4 separate regions of the Homo sapiens genome follow, and all the other regions are linked to region 1. Evidence: promoter capture Hi-C in human tissues and cell types (Jung and others, 2019). All regions are on one chromosome and are shown on one strand. Each heading gives the region's core, a stretch centred on a gene start or on the middle of the fragment in contact. The rest is flanking DNA. Distances are from core to core; before and after follow the strand shown.

Evidence for each region. Contacts are between HindIII fragments. The study calls those that stand out against the background at their distance.
Region 2: a fragment that was not itself captured here is called in contact with the fragment with the promoter of TMEM45B in region 1 in 1 of the 25 tissues and cell types used here (dorsolateral prefrontal cortex).
Region 3: a fragment that was not itself captured here is called in contact with the fragment with the promoter of TMEM45B in region 1 in 1 of the 25 tissues and cell types used here (pancreas).
Region 4: a contact is called between a fragment that was not itself captured here and the fragment with the promoter of TMEM45B in region 1, in 1 of the 25 tissues and cell types used here (H1 embryonic stem cells).

The regions. Positions count from the first base shown.
Region 1 is chr11:129,813,536-129,817,659 of GRCh38, reverse strand. It overlaps TMEM45B (transmembrane protein 45B), which reads right to left and starts at 1,812. Exons shown (of 6, transcript NM_138788.5): 1 at 1,762-1,812. It overlaps LOC124902793 (a long non-coding RNA gene), which reads left to right and starts at 2,973. Exons shown (of 2, transcript XR_007062952.1): 1 at 2,973-3,692. The HindIII fragment of the contact is 7,942 bases long and covers 295-4,124 here.
Region 2 is chr11:129,346,183-129,350,306 of GRCh38, reverse strand. No RefSeq gene overlaps it. Among named protein-coding and RNA genes, the nearest start is that of BARX2, 28 kb to the left of the region's middle. The HindIII fragment of the contact is 3,548 bases long and covers 162-3,709 here.
Region 3 is chr11:130,199,760-130,203,883 of GRCh38, reverse strand. It overlaps ST14 (ST14 transmembrane serine protease matriptase), which reads right to left. Exons shown (of 19, transcript NM_021978.4): 16 at 3,747-3,933. Among named protein-coding and RNA genes, the nearest start is that of ST14, 42 kb to the right of the region's middle. The HindIII fragment of the contact is 6,598 bases long and covers 1-4,124 here.
Region 4 is chr11:130,134,439-130,138,562 of GRCh38, reverse strand. APLP2 (amyloid beta precursor like protein 2) reads right to left here. Exons shown (of 17, transcript NM_001142276.2): 13 at 2,848-3,000. Among named protein-coding and RNA genes, the nearest start is that of ST14, 23 kb to the left of the region's middle. The HindIII fragment of the contact is 3,426 bases long and covers 213-3,638 here.

The DNA of each region.
Region 1 (4,124 bases), core at 563-3,062:
TAAATGGGAACAGGTGTGGCCTGAGGATAAGTAAGTGGGGGCACTGTTTCCATCTTCATGAAGATGTGAGAGGAAATCAAAGCTCTTTAAAAAGAAGGAAATGGAATGCTTGGCTCCTGTAATATCAGAACAAATAATGCACAGCCAGAGGTCATGCCTCACCTTCTGCTTATCTCAGTCACCTCCACTTGTAAAATCAGTGGGCCATATTCAATAAAACCTTCATATCAGTTCCATATCTTTTCCCAGAAACCCCAGGAACAGAGGGAGCCAATATCCTTATTAAACCAAGAAGCTCACTGTCACAAAGAGCTAAGTCTGACGCCCCTGGGCCCCTACCTAACCACGTGTCCTGATTCTTTCCATAACTTCCCACTGCACAACATCCAGGTTATACTGAAGATATTACACATCTGGTTAAAAACAGTACACGTCTCTCATGAACAATAAGCCATCCTTTCTATTAAAATGAGTGTAAAATTGCAGGTAAAATGCTGTAGGCAGGCCTGTTTGGAAGGCTATGCGACCCTAGGAGACAAAAAGGTGCAGGAGGAGGAAAAGGGCAGACACCGCAGAAAGCGGTCGAAGAGAACGTGAAAGAAGTGGCCATTTCTAGCTGGGCGCGGTGGTTCACGCCTGTAATCCCAGCACTTTGGGAGGCTGAGGCGGGTGGATCATGAGGTCAGGAGATCGAGACCATCCTGGCTAACACGGTGAAACCCCGTCTCTACCAAAAAAAAAAAAAATACAAAAAATTAGCCGGGCGTGGTGGCGGGCGCCAGTAGTCCTAGCTACTCGGGAGGCTGAGGCAGGAGAATGGTGTGAACCCGGGAGGTGGAGCTTGCAGTGATCCGAGATTGCGCCACTGCACTCCAGCCTGGGCGACAGAGCGAGACTCCGTCTCAAAAAAAAAAAAAAAAAAAAAAAGAAGTGGCCATTTCTGCAACTTTTAGGAGAGCTACCTGCCCTCAAATTTTGAAAGGGTTTCTATTTCTTAAAGTGCTACGTTTCCCTGGCTGAAACTCACATCTTTCTTCCCTCTAGGGCTGGATCAAAGCTTCAGAGGTTGTTTCTCTGGCCCTAGACAGGGCCACCCCCGCAAATTTCTCCCCCACTGCGCCTGACATCCGCTTCCATCCATGGCTCCATTAACGGAAGCTAAGCACTGGCTCGGGGGACTTTATCCACCGCCCGGTGTTATTAGATTCCAGGCTTCCTGGCCTCAGGAAAGGATCTGGCTCGTGTATTTGTGTATCGCAGCTAACAAGGAAAGGCAGTCGGTACCAGTGCCCAGAGCTATGTGAGCTGTGACTGGTCACAGCCCAGGAGCCAGATGGCATCCCCGGGGGCGCGCGTCCCCGGACTCACCGGGCAGACGGAGGCCCGGGGCTTCACACCTTCCCCTCACCGGGCAACGCGGCAGACCTGACTCGCGGGGGACTGAGCAATATTCGTTCCAGGGCCGCGGCCAGCCGGACAGAGGCACTCGGGGGCGGTGGGAGTAGTGTGCGCACCGGTTCCGCAGCCCGGAGGGGGCCCCAGCTGGGCTTCCGCGACACCAGGGCCCTCCATCCCCTCCCGTCCTCCCCTAGCGCAGCCTTCACCCCTGTCCCAGAGCCCCTCCCTGTCCGCGTCCCCTCCCCCGCAGGTCCCCTGCGAGTCGGAACCTCCTCTCCATCACAGCCCCGCTCCTTGGCGGGGCCCCCTCTCCCTTCGAGCCCTCCTCCAGGTTCGAGCCCCCTGCGGGTACGGACGTCTGACCTGTGCCCAGCGCCTCGCAGCCGTCTGCAGCCCGCGCCGCGCGCCAAGTGCGTCCGCCCAGAAGCAGGTGCAGCTCCAGGCCCGCCCCGCCCCGCTGCGCCCCGCCCCGCTCCACTCCGCCAGGCCTGGCAGCCGCCAGCCCCTTTCCACCCTTGACCGCCCTTCCCGGTCCCGGCCAGCGTGCGGGGCATCTGTCGTCAGGTCCGCACTTCCTCCAGGCCTTTGACTTTCCCGTGGAGATGTCTCTGGCCTCAGGAACTCCCTAAGCTGTGTGCTTCAGGAGAGGCTGGTTCCTGAGTCACCCAAGAGGACTGCAACCAACCTGGACCTCCTGAGATGCAAAGAGATCGCAGGGCCTGGGAGGCGGCGAGGACCCTGAGAACAGGCTGTGGCTCCGAAGAGTGTTTGTTACCAAGCCAGGCAACCACTGCGAACACACCGCAGAAACAGCCACGGATCACCGTCCAGCAAAGGAAGAAGGTGCCAACGGTCCATCAGGGACCACAACCCAGTTTTTTTAGTTTAAGTTTGGTGGCTAAGTTTGAGTGTCACATAGTTCATTCATTCCTTCATTCATTCAACAAATCTGCCATGTTCCCATCTGATAACAGATCTGACAGGTGGGCACTGTTCTAGGTGCTGGCGATAGAGCTAAGAAGGAAACAAAGTTCCTGTCCCGGAGAAGGGGGCTACCTGCTGAGGAGAGCATGACTTTCTTTGTGGTATTGTGCTGTGGCAGCAGGGTCCTCTTCTGTAAGCTACTGAGAGGTGAAACCCGCTGGGCTTCTGGGTCGGATGGGGACTTGGAGAACTTTTCTGTCTAGCTAAAGGATTGTAAAAGCATCAATCTGCACTCTGTGTCTAGCTAAAGGTTTGTAAACACACCAATCAGCACTCTGTAAAAATGCACCAATCAGTGCTCTGTGTCCAGCTAATTGGTGGGGACTTGGAGAACTTTTCTCTCTAGCCAAAGGATTGTAAATGCACCAATCAATGCTCTATGTCTAGCTAAAGGTTTGTAAACACATCAATCAGCACTCTGTAAAAACGGACCAATCAGCACTCTGTAAAATGGACCAATCAGCACTCTGTAAAATGGACCAATCAGCGCTCTGTAAAATGGACCAATCAGGAGGATGTGGGCAGGACCAATCAGGAGGATGTGGGCGGGGCCAATGAGGGAATAAAAGCTGGCCATCCGAGCCAGCGGCAGCTGCGTTTGGGTCCCCTTCGATGGTGTTGGGGTTTTGTTGTTTCGCTCTTTGCAATAAATTTTGCTGTTGCTCACCTTTTAGGTCCACACTACCTTTATGAGCTTTAACACTCACAGTGAAGGTCTGCAGGTTCACTCCTGTAAACCAGCGAGACCAGGAAGCCACCACAAGAAACAACTCTGGAGCCGCCACCTTTAAGAGCCATAACACTCACTGTGAAGGTCTGTGGCTTCACTCCTGAAGTCAGCGACACCACGAACCCACAGGGAGGAGCAAACAACTCCAGACGCACCACTTTTAAGAGGTGTAACACTCCCTGCGAAGGTCTGTGGCTTCACTCCTGAGGTCGGCGAAACTACGAACCCGCTGGGAGGAAGGAACAACGCGGATGCGCCACCTTTAAGAGCTGTAACACTCCCTGCGAAGGTCCGCGGCCTCACTCATCAAGTCGTGCATAGACCACGAACTCTCTAGAAAGAAAAAACTTCGGACACACCTGAACATTTGAAGGAACAAACTCCGGACACACCATGTTTAAGAACTATAATGCCGTGAAGGTCCGCGGCAGGACCGGGACCAGGAACTCTTCAGAGGGAACCAATTCCGGATACACAGCTTCGTGGAATGGTTCTGCACTGTGTGTGTGTGTGTTTCCCGTCAACCCTGTGCACACTATTAGAAGAACACAAGCGTTAAGGCTCCCTCTCAGTCCTGCCGGTAAGAATCCAGGGCTGATGCACCTATTAAAAGCTTCTCAGGAGGCCTGGGGAAGTGGGGGTTGAGAACCACGGGTCTAGATCTCTAAGATGCCTGGCAGCTTATTCCACTGTTGAGGGCACTGGCAATCAGGAAGGGCTTCATGGAAGAGATGTTTGCATTTGGGTTTTAAAGCAGGGCCACAGCTAGATATTAGCAGTGCAGAAGGACACGGGATCCGACGGGCAGCCTGTTGACCAAATGGCTCCGTTTTTATAAAGTCAAAGAACATCACTGTGAAGGATAAGGCATTAACTGGAGCAGACCTTTCCCTGGTAAAACAGAGCGAATGGGATCTGGTGGGAGGTGGTAATGGCCAAGAGGTAGTGCCGTCAGTGAAAAGCGTCATGGAGTCGTGCACCTTACAGGGAGGATGGGCCGCAGCCAGGAGCT
Region 2 (4,124 bases), core at 686-3,185, 470 kb after region 1:
ATTCCATGACTGTAAAGTATATAATGTGGACTAAAGCTTACTTAGCCCTATTAGAGAAGTCTAGAAACAGTCACCTAACCTGTAGCAATGAGCATTAGACTTCAATTTAAAACATCATGTCCCACTAAGAGAAACTAGGGCTTCTTGGAGAAATCGCTGAATTTCAGATCTAGGGAAGGAAATGTACAAGAGGAGCCTAAAACATCTTGTCTTTCTACATAGCAAGGAAGCTATCAAGTACTGCTAGGATCCTGCAAGGAAAGAATCAGGAATCAAACTGAAGAAGCTTTTATCGGCAAAAGAAGGTACATTCAGAGCTTCAAAAAGGAAAATACATAATTGCAAGTGTCTGGAATTCCTCAACTATGTTCAAACCTATAAGTTCAAAGTGATATTTTAGAAAACTAAAGCATGTCAAAGAACAAATTCATTATACTGAAAACTGGTAAATAAAAGAAAAGAATCAAAAATTTGCTCTGCCTTTCATATATCAACTGTGTCACTGGGTAACAGATAGTAGACGAGGGGAACTGTCTCCTTATAAAAGGAGTCTAATAAGTAAAAAAAAAAAAAAAAAAACGATAGAATATCACCATTGGGTGGGCACAGTGCCTCACACCTGTAATCCCAGCACTTTGGGAGGCCGAGGTGGGAGGATTGCTTGAGCTCAGGCGTTCAATACCAGCCTGGGCAACATGGTGAAACCCCATCTCTACAAAAAATACAAAAATTAGCCAGGCATGGTGGTGTGCATCTGTAGTCCCAGCTACTGGGGAGGCTAAGGCAGGAGGAGCGCTTGATCCCACGAGGCTGGAAGCTGCAGTGAGCCGAGATCCCACCACTTCACTCTGGCCTGGGCAATAGAGCGAGACCCCATCTCAAAAAATAAGATAGAACTTAAAAAAAGAATATCATCATTTAGCCACACCCAGTGAATTAATAGATCTGATCTTTGAGCATCAACAACTGCTAACATTATAAAACGGGATACTACCAGACCCTATGGTCTTCATCATGAAGACCACAACACTTCCTGTACCCTTGCTGAAGGGATCAAACCTGAAGGAGATCAAGCTCTGTATCCAGCTGTAAATGTTTAGGAAAACAGAGGAATATTTTGAACTGTGCCTGAGTATTCAGCCAACAAAATCTAGATTGAGAGAAACTCTACAGGAATCTATGGGTCAGGAAACCCATGTGAGGACTCTGCCACTTACTAAGTATGTCTGCTCCCTATGCTATACATACAGTCATGCATGGCTTAACTATGGGGACATGTTCTGAGAAATGTGTCATCACATAATTTCACTGTTGTGGGATCATCATTGTGTGTACTTACACCAGCTGGATGAAGTAGCCTACTACACATCTGTGCTATGTGGTAGAGCCATACAGGATACAAATCTATACTGCATGTTACTGTACTGAACACTGTAAGAAATTGTAACACAATGGTAAGTATTTGCATATCTAAACTTACCTAAACATAGAAAAGGTATGGTTAAAAAAAAGGGTATAAAATATTTTAATGGTACATCTGTATAGGGCAGCTTCACTATAATCTTATTGGACTATAGTCATATATATGGTCTGCTGTTGATCAGCATCGTTATGCAGAAATGACTGCACTTGGACTGGGAAAATAACCACAGAACGGGACTGCAATCCCAATGGACTCACAGTGAGACAGACTAGGGCAAGACACCATCATTTATCTGTCTGGAATAAGTTCCCCTTCAGACCAGTGGACCATAGCAGCATTTCAAATCTCAGTATTAGCATCAGTTCAGAGACAATATCTAACAGCCCCTGGATCTTCCTTCCCCTAATTCACAGTTGCCCTGGCAAATGGCTGACGATCCTACTGGAAAACACTTAAGATTCATAGTACACAACTGTGGAAGGTTACATAGTGCTTTCTCAAAAATACCTGGCCAAATTCCCAGTCAAAGGGTTCCGGTGGTTGGGAAGTGGTTTAGGCCTGGAAACCAAGAAAGAAGCAATGAATGCCCACTACAGCAACTCAAGTTAGATTTATGCCCAACAGACCCAGGGTTTTTTCATTTATGCTTGCAGTACCTTAGTGGGCTGTCCATCTATTTCATTTTACATGTCTCATGATTAGTTAGCTATCACTATACATCTTTTTGAGACAAGATGCTCTGATTACTATTCTGATTGTGTAGCTTTTGGGGTAAAGTTGTCCACGTAGTCTGATGTTTAAGCATTTCCACTGGCCTCTCCCACTTTGAGACCCTCATTGTTCACACTGAGATCAAGAAATCTAATTACATTGCAGCATCTCCCCACATCATCTACAGTCTACAGAGGACAACTGGTCATTAAAGAGATTCTCAAGGATGGCAGTAACCCACACCATTGTATTTCTTTTTTAACAGCCTTATTGAGGTATAGTTCACATACCATACAATGCACCCAATAAAGTGTAAATTAAATGTTTTTGAACATATTAGAGTTGTGCAACCATCATCCCAATGAATTTTAGAACATTTTCCTCATCACCGCAACCAACCCCTAAAAAACCCATAGCCATTAGCAATCACTCCCTGTTTCCCACTAACCTCAGACAGAGGCAACCATTAATATACTTTCTGTTTCTATAGATTTGCCTGTTCTGGACATTGCATGTAAATGAAATCACCTGATAAGATTTCATAATATGATTCAAAAGATCACAGTATGATCTTTTGTGACTGGTTTCTTTTACTTTGCATAATGTTTTCTAGATTCATCCATGTTATAGAATGTATCAGCACTTCATTCCTTTTTTATGGCCAAATAATATTCCATTATGGATATACCTACCACATTTTGTTAATCCATTCATTACTTGATGGACATTAAGCTCTCTTCACTTGTTTGCAATTATTAATAATGCTTCTATGAGCATTAGTATACAAGTTTTGGTGTCGACCAAATATATGTGGACATATATTTTCATTTCTCTTGGGCATATAGGAGTGCTGAGTAATATGGTACCTCTATGTTTAACATTTTGATGATCTGCCAAACTATTTTACAGAGAAGTTGCACCATTTTACATACCATAAGCAACATATGAGGGTTCCAATTTTTCCACTGTCTTACCAATACTTGCTATTATCTGTCTTTTTTTTTTTTTATGATAGTCATCCTAGTGAGTATGAAGTGGTATCTCATTGTGGTTTCACTTTGTATTTCCCTGATGACTAATGAAGTTGGGCATCTTCTCATATGCATATTGGCCAGTTGTATATCTTTGGAGATGTGTCTATTCAAATCCTTTGCTCATTTTAAAATTTTGTTCTTTTTTCATTATTGAATTATAAGAGGTTTTTTTGTTGTTTGTTTGTTTGTTTTGAGACGGAGTTTCGCTCTGTCACCCAAGCTGGAGTGCAGTGGCATGATCTAGGCTCACTGCAACCTCCACCTCCCCAGTTCAAGCGATTATTCTGCCTCAGCCTCCCAAGTAGCTGGGACTACAGGTGCGTGCCACCATGCCCGGCTAATTTTTGTATTTTTAGTAAAGACGAGGTTTCACCATTTTGGTCAGGCTGGCCTGGTCTTGAACTCCTGACCTCATGATCTGCCTGTCTCAGCCTCCCAAACTGTCAGGATTACAGGCGTGAGCCACCACGCCCAGCCGAGTTTCAAATATATATTCTGGATACAAGTTTCTTATCAGATACATGTTTTGCAAATATTTTCTCCCATTCTTTGATTTGTCTTTTCACTTTATTGAGTGTCCTTTGAAGTACAAAAAAGTTTTAATTTTTATGAAGTCCTAGTTTATCCACTTCTTTCTTTTGCTACATGTGCCTTTGGCGTTGCAGCTAAGAAGGCATTGCCTAACCCAAGTTCACAAAGATTTAGTTATGAGTTTTATAGCTTCAGTTCTTGCATTTTGTATATCGTGTAAGGAAGGAGTCTAATTTCATTTTTTTTTTTTTTACCAGTTATCTACATCCCGTTGCTCTAGTATCATTTGTTGAAGACTATTTTTTTTTTTCTTTGAGACAGGGTTTGCTCTATCACCCAGGCTGGAGTGCCATGGCGCAATTATGGCTCACTGCAGCCATGACCTCCTGGGTCCAAGTGATCCTTCTTCCTCAGCCTCCAATGTA
Region 3 (4,124 bases), core at 1,201-3,700, 390 kb before region 1:
TCAGGAGTTCAAGACCAGCCTGGCTAACATGGTGAAACCCCGTTTCTACTAAAAGTACAAAAAATTAGCCGGGCACGGTGGCGCATGCCTGTAATTCCAGCTACTCGGGAGGGTGAGGCAGGAGAATTGCTTGAACCCGGGAGGCGGAGGTTGCAGTGAGCTGAGATCGCGCCATTGCACTCCAGCCTGGGCAACAAAAGTGAAACTCGGTCTCAAAAAAAAAGAAAAAAGAGCAAAGGCACATTTAGGAAACCCTCACACTGAGCATGGGGAAGGCATGAGGACTGCACTGGAGACTGAGACTGCACGGACGGGCAGGGGCCAGATAACGTGGCCGTGTCGGTCGTGAAGGAGTTCCTGCTTTATACTGCAAGCCGTGGCAGGCGCTGAAGCAAGAGATTGGGGTGATCAGATTTGGGGAAGGCCCCTCTGGGCTCGAGTGGTGCAGACCAGAGTCCTGAGAGGGAAGGAAGTAGATGGGGAGGGTGCTGCAGCTGCCCAGGCTACAGTGAGCTAGGACGAGCAAGGTGGTGGCAGTGCAGATAGAAGAGAGTAGAGATGTTTCAGGAACACCCAGGAGGCGAGCATGTAGCTGAAAGGGTCTCATGGGACGGGGGAGAGGGGAGAGCCATCCTTGTCCCTCTAGCTCAATTCCCCGTGACCCCAACACTCAGCATGGACACCCCCATCCAGCTCTTTGCCCTGTGCCTGCGGGTTTCCACCTCCCTCCTCCAAGCCCGCCCTGTTCACCTGGCGACCTCAGCTCAAGACCCCGCTTTCATGAAGCCCTGTCTGCAAACCCAGCCAATCGGTAAGTCTGACAGTATTTGATTCTATCAGCAGACTCAGCCTCTAACGTTTAAGGCATGCACGTCTACCAGCAGCTGAGAGACTGATTGTGAAGATGCAGCCACTGATATCCCCCATGGTGACCCCAGGGGCTGGAGTGCAGTTGGGAATCGCTAGTGCTCAGGTAGAACTTCTGATGTCCCAAGCACAATTCTCGATGCTGACACAGTAAGTTGTTTTATCCCTGAAACAGTCCTGTGAGGTAGGGTCGCGCTTTTTAAGATGAGGACTCAAGCACAGAGAGGGCAACTTGCCGAAGATCATATAGCTAACACGCTGTAGACCACAACTGCAACCTAGGCAGCCTGTGCATTTAACCGCAACGTGATGCCGCCTCCCGGCAGTGCCCAATGAATGCATGATGACTTAGCCATGTGCTCAGGGTCCCTTGACACCATGCCCCTGCACATCTCACACCTCCCTGCCTCTGCACACGACACTCCCTTTGTCTGGAAGGTCTGAGCCACCTGGTCCAGCTGACAGACACCCTCACCTTCAACCCTCAGTTCAGACACCCATGTTGAGTGTTCCCAACAGTCACCCCCCGAGTCCCTCAGGCATATGGGTTTAGAATTCTAAACTCCACATGCTGGGCCCAAGGGAGCCTGGACACAGCCCTGCCACAGCACTTACTGCACATGTGTGTCATGTCTTGTCCCTACCCTTACAAGTCTGTGACCCACAATCTGCAGGGACCAAGTCCTATTCATGTTGGTCTCTCTAGTGTCAATAGTAACCAGGGGTGTTGAAGATTAATTGCACTACTCGTTGGCAGAAGCATGACTGATGATCAACACACGATGAAGGAGAAGGAAATGAGAAAGAAAGCAACGAAGCAAAGGAAAAGAGGAAGCAGTGCAGGATGGCAGGGCAGTTCTTAGTATGCACCCAGCCATTTCCTAGCTCTACCTGCTAACTGGGCCTGGACATGACACCATGGTGACAATGAACACACTAAGCAACCGGACCTTGGTCTCTAAATACCATTCCCAGTAAAGGACTCCTTGGAGAAATGGCTGGTCCTAGGGCTGGGCTGGGGAAACATAAGATGAGCCTATTGTACCTGGTAGTGCCAGAAAGCAAGGACATGGCTCAAAAAAGGAAAGAATGGGGCATATCAAAGAGGCACAAAAGCCAACCTCAAAGAGAAGTGGTTGGGCCAGGCATGGTGGCTCACATCTGTAATGCCAGCACTTTGGGAGGCCAAGATGGGAGGATCACTTCAGCCTAGGAGGTGGAGGCCAAGCTTAGCAACTTAGCAAGGCTCTGTCTCTACAAAAATTTTAAACTAGCTGGGCATGGTGGCATGTGCCTGTAGTCCCAGCTACTCAGGAGGCTGAAGCAGGAGGATTGCTCAAGCCCAGGAGTTCAAGACTGTAGCAAGCTATGATTTGCACCACTGAACTTCAGCCTGGGTGACACAGTGAGACAAGGGACAGCCTCAGGCTGGACAAAGCCACGTGTCAAGCACCCAGCGAAGCTGGGGACCATGGAACTGGGTCCACTCCCCACAGGCTCTTGCTGTCCATCTCCATCACCCAAGCCCTGTGCATGGGTCTGAGCACACTCCATCTGTGCCTCAGGCCTCCCTCCTGCTGTGGGCCCATCTCTCCTCCCTGCAAAGGGCAGCTGAGGGCTTGGGTCACCTGCTCCTGGAGCTGCCTACCATGGAAAAGCGTGCAGCCAGCAGAAAGCGCATCCCCTTCTTCCGAGGTTGGATTCTCCTGGAAGGCCCATGCCCCTGTGCCTGCCTCTTCAGGGCAAGCCAGGCCCTAACACTCCTTCCTTCAGCCAACAGCCAGACGCCCAGAGAGGCCAGGAGCTAAGACACAAATAGCGCAGCCCGGCATTGTGCCCCTGTTCCTGGGATGCCCATGTGACCCTTCCAGGCCTCTCATCTGTCTGTGTGTCTGAGGCCATGACATGCTGAGCACCTACTATGTGCCAGGCACAGCGCAAAGTGTCTCAAGTACAGCATTGTATTTAATTCTCACAACTCTAAGGGTGGGAGCTGATACTGTCACTATCATTGGTGAAGAACCCAAGGCCTAGGAAGTTTGAATAACCTGCCCAGGGCCACCGGCAAGCCAGAGCTGGAGCATGAATCCAAAGCTCACGTTGGCCAATCCGAGGAGTTGCACAGTGCAGACTCACCGGAGACCACACCTGTGCTCAAGTCTGGCTCTGCCACTTAACAGCTGTGCCACCCCAAGCAAACGTCCCTACTTCTCTGAACCTTACTTTCTGTAGTGAGGATACAATCAAGCTGCCTAACTTGCTAGGGGGTTTTAGGAGAGGCACAGAGACAGCACTTGGCTGCAAGTGGGCACCGAATACAGTGAGTTTTTATTATTACTGTTATTGAGCCCCGTCCTGGGATATCTGCTCATTTGGTTTGGATGCTTGTCCCCTCCAAATCTCATGTTGAAATGGGATCCCCAGTGTTGGAGGTGGGGCGTGGTAGGAGGTGTTTTGGTCACGGTTCCCTCATGAATGTTTTGGTGCCCTTCCCATGGTGATGGGTGAGTTCTGAGTTCACACGAGGCTGGCTGCTTAAGAGTCTAGGACCTCCTCCTGCTCTCTCTTGCTCCTGTTCTCGCCATGTGATGTGCCTTCTCCCCCTTCACCTTCTGCCATGGATGGAAGCTCCCTGAGGCCCTCACCAGAAGCAGAGGCTGGCACCACGCTTCCTATACAGCCTGCAGAACCATGGGCCAAATAAACTCTTTTCTTTATAAATGACCCAGTCTCAGGTATTTCTTTAGAGCAACTCAAGAATGGACTAACACATGTGGCCACCCCTCCAGTGCCCTGCCTCGGTGCCAACCTATCCTGGCATTACTCCCAGATGCAAAGGGCCAGCAAGGAGGCTCCCTGCTGCCCACCCAGAGACCCACCTGAATCCTCTGTCATCGATGTAGCAGTGTGCGGCAGAGACCAGCCAGTTGGGAGAGATGAGGGAAGCACCGCAGATGTGGCCCTGGCCCAGAGCATGCAGGCTTACCTGCCAGGGCCACTCGCCCTCATCCGCATCCGTGCCCCCAACAACACGAGCCTGTCTCGTGAATGACCGCAGCCCACAGTCTGCAGAGGGAGCAGAGAACCAGAGGACAGCAAGTCAAGGTGGGGACATCAAACCACAAGGGGACATGCAGTGTGTGCCAGGAGACCCTGTGTGGGGAAGCCAGCTTTTGGCGTGCACAGCACTGCTGGCGTGGCCAGGGCGTGAGGGACCCCCAAAACTATCTTTGAGCTTCACAGACTCCCTTCCACCA
Region 4 (4,124 bases), core at 676-3,175, 320 kb before region 1:
GTTATAATAGATTTTTGGTGGTATAGCCCCCACGTTTCTTAACATAAACAAGTGACTTCAAGACACCAAAGTTAATGTTTAAATTGTCCCAACTCATAACAGTTCAGTACAAAAGCAAAAGCCAGTTAAACTTCTAGAAAACTCATCTTTCTCTATAAACATCTCAGTTGTGCTGTTGAAAGGAATGTCGGCACAGTCATCCCCACGAACAGGCATATCCAAGTAGAATAAAATAAAGCATCTACACGAAGTCATTTTCAGAAGATTGAAATCACACTTTTGTGTTCTGAGAATAACCTGTGGCGTAAACCAGAACACCACCTTCTTAGCCGGGCAACACCGTTTGGCCCATCAACAGGAAGTCTGCCAAAGCCAAGGGTGGGCTCATACAACACATTATGAACAAGAAATGTTGAAATGATTCACAATGACTGGGCCACCCACCCACCTGGGGGATCCCGTGACACCGACAACTCAGGTAATGAAATCACATGGGCTTGGGGAACAGAGAACTGGGTTCAAATCCTGGTTCCTCCACTTCTTAGAGCAAGTCACGTCATCTCAGAAACTTCTTCAATTGTCTAATCTAGAAAATAGAGCTAAAAACACTACTCATCCTACAGGGACGTTCAGTGGACTAAGATGGGGACAAGAATGCAAAGCATTCCACATAGTGCTTTACGGAACGTTAACTCTTTTTGAAAACTGGAGACTCAGTACAGTGAGCTGGGTTGTCTCCAGCTGTTTGATCCATTGGCTTCCGATGTTCTGAGGAATATACAACTCAGGGGACATGAGACAACTGGCACAGACAAAGGGCGAGGAGAGCCAAAAAGAAAAGATGTAAATGGGAATTGCAGAGAAAAAGAGGGAAAAGAGAACGACTCTCCACCTGACTGTAAATAAGGCATATTTATACGGAGACAGCAGTTCACAACCAACCTAAGTTGGATATACTTCTAAAAATCTACCCAGATTAAAAGGGTCATGAAATCTATTTTGGTTGCTGTGCATTCTCTGACATCCCAGAGGGAAAGCTTAGCATGACCACGAGGTAACCAACACCATGGAAACTGGCCTCAGAGTGCTGGAGTCAGGTCAGCTTGTCAGCAACATGGAGGTGGGGCTGCTCTGACCCCACTCACAGCCGTGTCAGAAGGAATGAGGTGGGGAAAGCCAGGTGATGGCATGAAACAGAACATGAAGCTTCGGACACACTAGGGAGTGGAGAGGAATGAAGGTCTTAAAGGGAACATCTTGGACAAACCAACCTTTTTTCATTGGGTGGTACAACTCCGGCTGAGTGTCTAGCAGAAAGGAAAACAATAAAAAACAAAATAAAATAGCACAAAAGGAGATTAAAAAAGAAAATGGCTTCTTTTAAAATTTCTATCTTAGAATTTCTCTATAATGTGAACAAAAAGTATTCCTCCTTAAAAACACCCTGCCTGAAATATCCCATAAACAAACCAGCAGTATGAGCCACAGCAAATCACTGGAGGGTATCCTTGATAAGAGAGAAAAAAGTAGGTCTGTCTTGTGCCTTTTTAGGGAAACTGGGAGATGCCTGCACTATTTAGCTTAGCCCACATAATTATTTTTCTTAGAAAAAAGTGAAAATTGAAGTTAAGTGTTGGTTGTGGTTTGCTGACAGGGAGATAAGGTCCTAGTTCAGGTATATCCAAGCTGCCCCGACCCCCAACAAGCACATAAGAAGTTGTCCAAGCATGGCCACCCGACAAACCCACAGAGATTTGGGGATAGCATGGTGCCTCTTCATCTACCACCCCAAAAACCCACGGAGATTTGCGGGTGGCATGGCGCCTTTTCATCTATCTGCCACTTCCTCAGATCCTGTTTTATTTCTGGAGAGTCAACTGCTCTGGGATCGCTAGTTTAGAAAGCATTTCCATTAAGGTCTGAAGGCTAAGCTGGATGTACCTCCATCCCCCCACCCCTAATTTGATGCCTTCCTGAGGCCTCTGTTCCAGTGCTATATCCAGTCAGGTCTGTGACTGCAGGACCAGATCAGCTTGGATTCGACCCCTGACTCTCCACTTATAAGCTACATGACCTCGGGCAAGTTACTTAATCTCTTTATACCTCAGAATCCCCACATGGGGACACTCGACTACCCACCTGCGAGGGTTACTGTGAGGATGGAGAGCATCCGCTGAGATGCTTAGCTAAAGCTGGCATATAACAAGGACTACGGCATAGCTGTGGGCCATTCTTATCATTACCCTGTCAGCAGCAACAGCAACAAACAGAACTGATGAGGGGGACGGCTCTCAGGGCACTGGTCTCAGCAACTTGTTTATTTCTGGAGCAGACTCACAGCTTTTAGAGATCCTCTTAGACACTGAGAACCAGCAGGGGAATAGAGGAAAGAACGTCTGCCTAGGACCCAGAGGAACAGCTTCTTATCCCCACCTCATGTCAGAGATATGACCCACGCCAGCCCTGTCACCTCCTCAGCCTCTCCAGCACCTACCTCCCAAGACGGCTGGGCAAAGGTAACACCATAACAGGAAGGCGCTGTTTCAACTGCCAAGTGCCTCCCCCATGTAAGGAAGTGCACAAGTTGGAAGAAGTGGGGGTTTGAAGCCACCCATCTTGAAATGGGAGAATTAGTCTTAACTTCATGGTGACATTGACACCAATGATTTGAAAGCATCTAGCAGGGTCCTTGCACACAGTAGGCGCTCAATGAATCCAGTCTCCCTTCCCCTGACTCTCGCAGGAACACCATCTCCCAACTCAATTTGGTTTTCGAAAAACTGACTTCAATTCTCTCATTTTGTCCTCCCCCTGCTGCCCAGAAGTGGCACCGTCGCCCATACACACCTTCGTTCTCAGGTAGGGCTGGGAAGGGGTGGAAGGGGTGGAACGGTGGGATCTCCTCACTCTCCTCAGAGCTCACCCGGACGTCCACAGGGGTCTCTGAGATTGAGGCAGTGAACTGGTCCATATCTGCACGCTGCTCCTGAAGGAGCTCATCTGATGAAGACAGGGCAGGGGACAGAAAGCAGGCTTCAGAAGGGCCTGGTGTCCAGGCACAGGATGCTCTAGAGCTCCAAGACCCCACTGTGGCTCCCAGTTCCTGCCTGAAACACCTTCCTTGATTCTGTGGCACCACAGAGCCCCAACACCAGGGACCCCAGGGCGCCGTCCCAGGCACCCCTGCATCCACCTCCACACTCCAGTTAAGTGGTATCCACAACTCCACAGATTTTGGGGGTTTAAAAAATTGTACATATTTAAGGTCTAAAATATAATGCTTTGATATACATATACACCATGAAATGATTTCCATAGTCAAGCAAACACACACATCACCTTCCAGAATTACTTTTTTTTAAAAATAAGAATACCTCAAATCTACTCTCGGCAAATTTTTAGTATATAGTACGATATTACTAACTACAGTCCTCATGCTGTCCATCCCATCTCTAGACGTATCCACCCCACGTAACTACAACTACCACTTCATACCCTCTGACCTACTTCTCCCCGACGCCAGTTTTAAATACTGACCATATACCATGACTCCCAGGCCCGAATCCTGGACCTACTGCCTGACCTCTGCCTCACCTAAATCCTACATCCCCACATAACATCCAACAGAAATTTCTATCTTAACATGTATCAAGAGAGCTCCGGATTTCCTTCTCCACCTCAGTCAGCCATGGTACCACCATCCCCGAGCTGCTCCCAGTGGAACCCTAAGTGCACTTCTTGATGCCGCTCCCCCAACCCCACACGCAGCCCTGGGCGCAGCCCCACACACTCCCACCAGAACACATCCTACAGACCATCCCCAGCTGTCCCTGGGGTGCTCCTTCTCCTACCCCGTCACCCCTTCAGTGCATACTCCCAACAGCTCTCTCCTGAATTTCTAAAATCGCTTCCTGGCTGGTTTCTAATTTTAATCGACTACACACAGCAGCCAAGTGAGCTTTTAAAAATTCATAATCCAGATCTAGTCTTTCCCTAGCTGAAAATCCTCTAACGGCTTCCCATTATCCTAGAATAAAATCCAAACTCCTTGATTTTGCTGAAATTTCTTCCTCATCTGGTCCCTGCATACTTTGGCCACATCCCCTTTGCTATGTTGTAGCCAC